2 separate regions of the Homo sapiens genome follow, and region 2 is linked to region 1. Evidence: promoter capture Hi-C in 16 types of primary human blood cells and fetal thymus (Javierre and others, 2016). All regions are on one chromosome and are shown on one strand. The core of a region is centred on a gene start or on the middle of the fragment in contact, and the rest is flanking DNA. Distances in the headings are between cores, read along the strand shown. Region 1 holds the start of ADGRG3 (adhesion G protein-coupled receptor G3). Region 2 has its middle 72 kb from the start of KIFC3.

Region 1 (4,203 bases), core at 267-2,766:
GCGAGCCCCCACCACACTGTGTCACTCCTGCAGACTGTGAGCCTTTTGAGGGCAGGGGCCAAGTGGTACCAGCAGGAGCAGAGGGCACCATCGATGCTTCCTGAATGAATGAATGAATGAATGAATGCGCAAATGGAGAATGGAGACTAACACATCACTGTCCACACAGGAAGTGTGCAGACCTTCCTGTGTGTAGACCTCTCAGAGCTCCTTGCTCAATCAAATGGCTGCTGCTCTGCCCCAACCAGAGCACCCACATCACCATGGGGGAAACAGCATCACCTGGAGGAGGCTTGAAGGCCCAACCAGCGATGACAGCTGGGACCTGAGGACGCCCATGAGCCCTGGTCACAGCTGCCATCGGTGGCTCCGTTCATTCATCTATCAAGGGCTGCCTGGTGGCCTGCTCTGTACCAGGGCCTCCCGGGGCCACTAGGAGGACAGTGCTGTCATCTCCCACCCTTTTTTGAGCCAGGGACTGATTCACTCCACTGAATCTTCCAATGTTTGAAAAGAAGAGGGTTATTTGAAGACCAAATAAGTTGATCTATGTGGCCAAAGTCACGCGACCACACGCTGGACACACAGGGAGATGGACATGCAGGCCCCTCACCGAGTCAGGAGCAAAAAGAGAGTGGCCTGCAAGGCCCTGAGACAGGAGCACTGAGGAGGGAGCACTAACGGGGGAGCACCTCCCTCTGTCCGAGAGGGTTGCTAAGACGCCACAGAGGCCAAGAAGGGTAAATGGAGCTGGCTAAGTGGGCAAGGGGTAGGGGGACAGCTTTCCTGGGAGAGAGGCCAGCAAAGGCAAGGCCCGGGCACTTCCATGGCCTCTGGAGACGCACCATGTGTTTGTGTGTGAGACGGGAGAGTGACGGGGAGGAGTGTGGATCCTGGCTCAGGCCACTGAGGACCAAGAGGTTGTGGCTGAGACTGGGAGAGGGAGCCGGTGTGGGGTGACATGTGCGGGAGGAGAGGTCCAGAAGAACGAGGTGACAGACCTTCCTGGCCTCAGCTTCCAGAGTGTCTGAATCCCGTCCCCAGGATCTCACAAGCCAGCTGGAGAATTGCCTGCCCGGGGCCAACCCCTGTCTCAGAGCCAGGCCTGTCAGGGAGACACAGCCCAGGTTGGGGAGTCAGGGAGCACCCTCCGACCTCCCCTATCTCCAGGGCACTGTGGAGCAACAAAGGGAACCTGAGACCAGTCCTGAGCAAGGTTTAGTGGAAGGACAGGACTGACCCAAAGGGACAGGGCTAGAGAAGGTGCTGAGGCGGCCACGGGGGGTATCGGAGGACACATCCCAGACACCCCAACTCCTCACCTTCTCCAGTCCCTGCGTCTGTCCCTGGATCCCTCCCTCGGCAGGGCAGGGTCGGCCCAGCGTGGCAGGAGGGGATGAGGTGCCAGCCACTCACCTGAGGTCGGGAGCAGGAGGAGCAGGAGCAGGGCCCCCAGGCCCCTGGGCGTCGCCATCCTTGGCCAGCCTTGCCCACGCCAGGAGCTCTGTGGCTGTCTGGCCCTCTGGCCCCAGGCTCTGCTGAGCTGGCCTGCCCCCACCCTGCAGCCCCACCACTCTGGCTTCCTGTGTCCTCTTTCTCACCCTTCCTGCTCGATGGCGCCATTGGTTGGGTTGTGAAAGGTGAGTGTGGGGAACTGGGCAGTGCTCCCAGTCTCACCGCACCCTGGGTCCACCTGCAGAGGGAGCTGCTGAGCCCACCCAGGTATGTGCCCCCGGGGCCCCACTGGGGTGGGATCTACGGGGCTAGGGGCTGGGTGGCCACAGGGGCCTGGCTCAGAGCGGATCCCTGGGAACTGTGGTGAGCACAGGCTTTGGAGTCAGGCGCACCTACTCAGACCCCTCCTCTCACAAGCTGGGAGCCTCTCTGAGCCTCAGTTTCCTCCTCTGTAAAGTGAAGATGGCAATGGGGCTGCCTCCTAAGGCTGTGTCAGGGTTTGATGAGACCTGCAACAAGCTGGGCACAGAGCCTGGCTCTGGGCATGAGGACGAAGACCCAGATGGTGCCTATGGCTTGAACCAGGCTGGAGGGTGTGGGAGGAGAGCAGGAGCTGGCCCTGCAGCCTGAGCTTCCCCCACCAGCCTGGATAACAGGACGGACCCAGAGGCAGGGTAGCGGGAAGACAGCAGTGCGGCCCCGGGGGCTGGTCAGGCCTGAGCTAACATCCATCCTGGCCACTTCCTGGCCGGGTGACCTTGCATGCACTGTCTGTCACCCTGAGCCTCCCGAGGTGTGTGATGAAATCATGGATGACGCAGGCGGAGCCGCCTGTGGCCATTACATCATTTCTGATCATCAGAGCTGTGAAATTGTTGTCTTTACACCCCAAATGGTCACTGATCAGGTGGGAGGTGGGGGTGGCAAACACTCCTGGGCTTCAGCCTAAAGGAATTAGGGCGCCAGCCACTCGGGCCAACTCTGGAGGCCCCACGGATGCACTGTGCATGAGGCCATGGCCACTTGGCAATTGGAAGGTGAAGGGCATCCCACCAAGGTGTGTGGTTGCTGGCATCCCCCTCTGGCCCACGGGGCTGGCACTAGCCCTACTCAGCCTTGGGATTGAACTGGGGAGCCGCTCAGCCCCTGCTGGCCTCCATTTCCTCCTCCTCCCACTCAGTGTCTCCTGCTGAGCCCTCTGGGTCTGGGAAGGGGTAGGGAGGGGATGTCAGGGTCACTCATGGTGTGGGAGCAGGTGGGAATTCAGCATGGAGCAGCAGGTCAGAGCCCAGGGCTTCCTGAGCCCCAGAAACTTCCTCTGCAGGGAGGGCTGCGAAGGCAGATGAATGGCTGGGCCTGCCACTGCTCCACACCTGGCCAGCCTTCTCCTGGAAGATCTGCAGACCTCCCTCCCAGCTGCAGGTGAGGGTGAGGTGGGGCAGTGGACTTGGATGTGCTGGGCCCATCGCTGAAGCCCCATCCTGGCACCTGGGCCCTCAGAGAGGCTCGCAGGTACCAGTGTGTGAAGAAGCGCCTGGGGGTGAGCAGACTGAGATTCCGAGCAGCCAGCCCACCTGGGAAGTGGGCAGAGGGCAGGTGCAGGGGAAGGTCAGGCAGGGCTGGAAGGAGGGCCACCTTTTCCTAAGGCCCCTTCCCTGAAACGCCCCCTGGGGACCAGGGACTAGCCTGGAGCCACTCACAGAACCCTGAGACCCCCCCCAACCCCAGGGCCAACAAAACAGTAGTGTCCCTTCCTGCCGCCTCCTGCCCCAGCTTCTCCCAATGGCTCCAGTGGGCAGGGCCTCAAGTCCTCCAGCGAGACCCAGCCAGCATTCAGCCCTCAGCTGCTCCAATCCATTTCCCAAGCTAAAGGGATGTTTCCAGATGCACGCCTGGCCACATGCTGGCAGAAAGGGCGATCCCACTGTCCAAAGCCCCACAGCCTGGGAAAGTGCATGATAATAACCATCGGGGTAAAAGGATCAGCATGGAACTGTTGGTGCCCTGTGCAGGGCCTACCTGAGAAGGTGAGACCCAACCCAAGACCCCTCCCCACTACCTGAGCCAGCCTCAGATGCAGAAACAAAATGTTTGAGAAGCAGGAGAATTGCGGAGGAACGGGGCTGGGTCATTTCCCCCCCATTCTGGAAGATGGGGGGAGTTGCCTCAACCCCCATCCCAGGACCTAGCCCAGCCATGGGGCTCTGAGAGACCCCCCTCACGGAGACCTAGAAGCCTGTAAGGAGGGAAGCTGGCTTTGATCCCCCGGGGCTGCCCAATCCGGACACTGGGGTAGGGGAGGCTTGGGAAGGTTTGGCCTCTGTCCTTTGGAGCTGGGGGCATAAGAGGAGCCCCCCACCTGCAGAAAGGTGGGGACAGAGGTCAGTGGAGGGAGTGGAGGGGGTGGAGGGAGGGCTGGGAGAGCAGCAGGGCACAGGGGTTCTTGGTCCCTGCAGGTCCCAAGATCCCACATTCACGCCCCTCAGAGGGCACTGCCAGTCTAGACCCAGCTGCCTCACACCCACCTTGTCCAATCCAAGACTCTGAGCCTCTTCCCCTGCTGGGCATCCCCCTAGAGTGGCCAGGGGAGGAGGGAGGAGCCTGCAGAAGGGAGAGAGTGGACTGTGGGCCTTGGGGAGGACTTTGGCTGCACTGGGACCTCTTACCTGAACACAGTAGCAATGATCCGTTGTGACTGCCCTCATCACAGGGAAGATGGGAACCTGCGTGATCTGCCTCACCTGGGCC
Region 2 (3,782 bases), core at 1,258-3,757, 210 kb before region 1:
ATCTAGGCCACATATTCTGGGTGTGACTTTTGCTCTAGCATAGGCACTTGTGGTTTCTAAATCCAGACCTTAGGAAGATCCCCTCAGAAAAGAGATTAGAGGAGAGAGGGGGCTGTTTTTTGTTTGTTTGTTTGTTTTTTGAGACAGAATCTTGCTCTGTTGCCCAGGCTGGAGTGCAGTGGCGCAATCTCAGCTCACTGAAACCTCTGCCTCCCAGGTTGAAGTGATTCTTCTGCCTCAGTCTCCTGAGTAGCTGGGATTACAGGCGTCCACCACCATGCCCAGCTAATTTTTGTATTTTTAGTAGAGACAGAGTTTCACCACATTGGCCAGGCTGGTCTCAAACTCCTGACCTCAGGTGATGTGCCCACTTTGGCCTCCCAAAGTGCTGGGATCACAGGCATGTGCCACCATGCCTGGCTGAGGGGGCTGTTTTGACCAAGATGAAATTCAAACACCTGTCTGTGGATGGCCAGCCCAATGCGAGAGAGTGATTCACCAGCAAGGAGAACTGGAGCATCAAGCCTCATGCCCCCTAGGTACTTCCCAGCTCCCTCACTGTCCTGACACCACAGCAAAGCCCCCTGGGACAGAAACCTCCTCATCAATAACCCTTTGGACGCCCTGCCTCATTGCTGCCTTTTACTACTGGACCGAGAACAAAGGTGACAGTGCTTTAGGGCTTTGGAAACTTTTTCCCCATTCAGATAGTCTTGTCCACGCTGCTGCGTGATCAAGAAGCAAATGATCAGACCCAAATAATAGATGAGAAAATTCAAACTTAAGACAGCAAAGGGATTTATTCTCAGGGAATCAGCACCTTGGCTAGAGACAGAAACAGCCATGAGAAAAGAACCCGAAGGCCACTGTTCTGCTTCTGCCACCAACCTGCAGTGAAATCACACCTGGGTAACTTTCATTCATTCAATAAATATTTTTAAAAATTCTTTCTTTGTGCCAAACACTGTTCTAGTTACTTTCTGGCCTCAGGTGTTTCATCCCTAAGTTGGGAGGAAGAAAATAATCCTTCCAGGTTGTTATGAGAAGATTCAGGGCCAGGCGCAGTAATCCCAGCACTTTGGGAGGCTGAGACGGGTGGATCACATGAGGTCAGGAGTTCAAGACCAGCCTGGCCAAGATGCTGACACCCCTACTCTACTAAAAATACAAAAAGTAGCCGGGCGTGGTGGCACGCGTGTGTGGTCCCAGATGCTCGGGAGGCTGAGGCAGGAGAATTGCTTGAACCCGAGAGGTGGAGGTTGTGGTGAGCCGAGATCACACCACTGTACTACTCCAGCCTGGGTGACAGAGCAAGACTCTGTTAAAAAAAAAAGAAAAAAAAAGGAAGAAGATTCAAAGGATGCTTGATAAACTCATTGTAACCAAAAAATTGTGAGTAACATTTCCTAGATTCAATTTCCTGAGCACTATCTCCTTCGATATCTCTTCTGAAATGAAAAGAAAGACGGCCTGAGTGCCCTTATTTAATTTATTTATTTTTTGAGATGGAGTATTGTTCTGTTGCCCAGGCTGGAGTGCAATGGCGTGATCTCAGCTTACTACAACCTCTGCCTCCCGAGTTCAAGTGATTTCCGGCTAATTTTTGTATTTTTGGTAGAGATGCGGTTTCACCATGATGGCCAGGCTGGTTTCGAACTCCTGACCTCAAGTGATCCTGCCACCTTGGGCTCCCAAAGTACTGGGATTACAGGCGTCAGCCATTGCTCCTAGCCCTTGTATTATTCTTTCAATGGGCATAAGGTGTTGGCATCTCCAGGGGGTCCTCTTCCCTGGTCACCATGGTTGAGTTCCAGATTTAGCAAGTAAAAATACAGAAAGCCCAGGTAAATTTGAATTTCAGATAAACAATGAAGGTTTTTTTTTTTAAGCTTAAGTATATCTCATGCAATACTTGGGATATACTTATGCTAAAAAAAATTGTTATTTATCCAAAATTCAAATTCAACTTGGTGCCCTGTGTTTTTATCTGGCAATTCTGCAAGGTGAGGATGAGTGTCTCTCCTGCCCAGAGCAATTGGGGCTGCACCCTCTAGGGCCAACCTTGGGCCAGAGCCATCCTGGCATGCCCCTTCTCCAGAGCCAATCATGATTGGTGGAGGAAGAGGGAAAGCACCCACCCCAGGCTGCTGTTAGTGGTTTTTGTTTTTTATAGAGATGGGGTATCATTATGTTGCCCAGACTGGTCTAGAACTCCATGCCTCAAGCAATCCTTCTGCCTCCTTGCTGGGATTACAGGCATGTACGACCACGTCCAGCCTGTCCTGTCAGTGTTTCATTGTTCTTGTTTTTGAGACAGGGTCTTGCTCTGTCACCCACGCTGGAGTACAGTGGTTCAATCACAGCTCACTGCAGCCTCGACCTCCAGGACTCAGGTGATCCTCCTGCCACAGACATGCACCTCCACACCTGGCTATTTTTTTTTAACTATTTGTAGAGACGGGGGATAGGGGGTGGTGGGGACAAGTCGGGGGTCTCCCTATGTTGCCCAGGCTGGTCTCGAACTCCCTAACTCAAACAATCCTTTCATCTTGGCCTCCCAAAGTGTTGAGATTACAGATGTGAGCCACCACGTCTGGCCTGCCAGTGGTTTTTTAATATTTATCTTTATTAATTTTATCCTGAATGCACACACACAGGTGTTTGGGATCAGAGACAGATTTTATATTAATTACCTTTTAGCAAATAATAAGTACATAGCCTCCGCTCCCAGCCTCCCCTTAAGCCTTACTCCTGGCCAGGAAATGTCCCGTGCAAGTAGCCTGACACTCCATAGATGAAGGACAAGTTTTCTCTGCTTATAAAGGCGAAGGAGGTAGCTATTCCCCTCCCTTTTTGAAAGGGTCTCCTTGGAAACTTAATGGGCCCGAAACCTAACCCCAGCCCTTTGATATGTAAATAAAGCCTCACCCGGAACGAGATAGCCCCAGGTGTCTCAGCTTTAACCACCTGGAGGGGTCTTCAAGTTCTGGGACTTTCTCCCTTTGACATATAAATACCTAGGGAGATAGCGCCGGAGTCTTCCCGGCATTTTGGAGCTAGCCAAGAGACCTAGGCTCGGCTGTGGCCATTTGGCCGTCTCCCGGAGGGAGGTGAGAGAAGCTTTAGGATCCTTTCTAATCAAGGCAGTTAACTAGACAAATGGCTCCAGAGCGCATTATCAAGAGTCTCGGGAGACTGGGTCCCCACCTTTCACATTTCCAAATTTCTTCCTTTTCTTTCCTTCCTTCCTTCCTTTCTTTTTTCTTTTCTTTTTTTTTTTTTTTTTTTTTTTGACAGAGTCTCGCTCTGTCGCCCAGGCTTGAGTGCAGTGGTGCAATCTTGGCTCACCGCAACCTCCGCCTCCCAGACTAAAGCAATTCTCCTGCCTCCGCCTCCAGAGTGTCTAGAAATACAGGTGCGCGCCACTACCGCCCGGCTAATCTTTGTATTTTTAGTGGAGACAGTGTTTCACCATGCTGGCTAGGCTGGTCTTGAACTCCTGACCTCAAATGATCCACCGCACCCAGCCGCATTTCCAAATTTCTGAAATCAAGTGTTCCTTAATGAAAAGTGGGTAGAGGAGAGGGTCACGTGAAGTGTTTCCAGGCAGGTTCAAAAGAATAATTCAGATACCATGGAAAACTTCCACATATAAGTCAAATGTAAGTAATAAGTTTTAAAATCAGGGCCAGGTGCGCTGGCTCACACCTGTAACCACAGCACTTTGAGAGGCTGAGGCAGCAGGATCACTTGAGCCCAGGAGTTCAATACCAGTCTAGGTA

Evidence for each region. The method cuts DNA at HindIII sites, captures the fragments that hold promoters and counts their contacts. A CHiCAGO score of 5 or more calls a contact.
Region 2: a fragment that was not itself captured here is called in contact with the fragment with the promoter of ADGRG3 in region 1 in 1 of 17 cell types (megakaryocytes); the score reaches 5.1 in megakaryocytes.

The regions. Positions count from the first base shown.
Region 1 is chr16:57,665,619-57,669,821 of GRCh38, reverse strand. It overlaps ADGRG3 (adhesion G protein-coupled receptor G3), which reads right to left and starts at 1,516. Exons shown (of 12, transcript NM_170776.5): 1 at 1,417-1,516. The coding sequence starts at 1,474. The HindIII fragment of the contact is 25,338 bases long and covers 1-4,203 here.
Region 2 is chr16:57,872,581-57,876,362 of GRCh38, reverse strand. No RefSeq gene overlaps it. Among named protein-coding and RNA genes, the nearest start is that of KIFC3, 72 kb to the right of the region's middle. RefSeq lists an enhancer at 2,702-3,229. The HindIII fragment of the contact is 1,231 bases long and covers 1,892-3,122 here.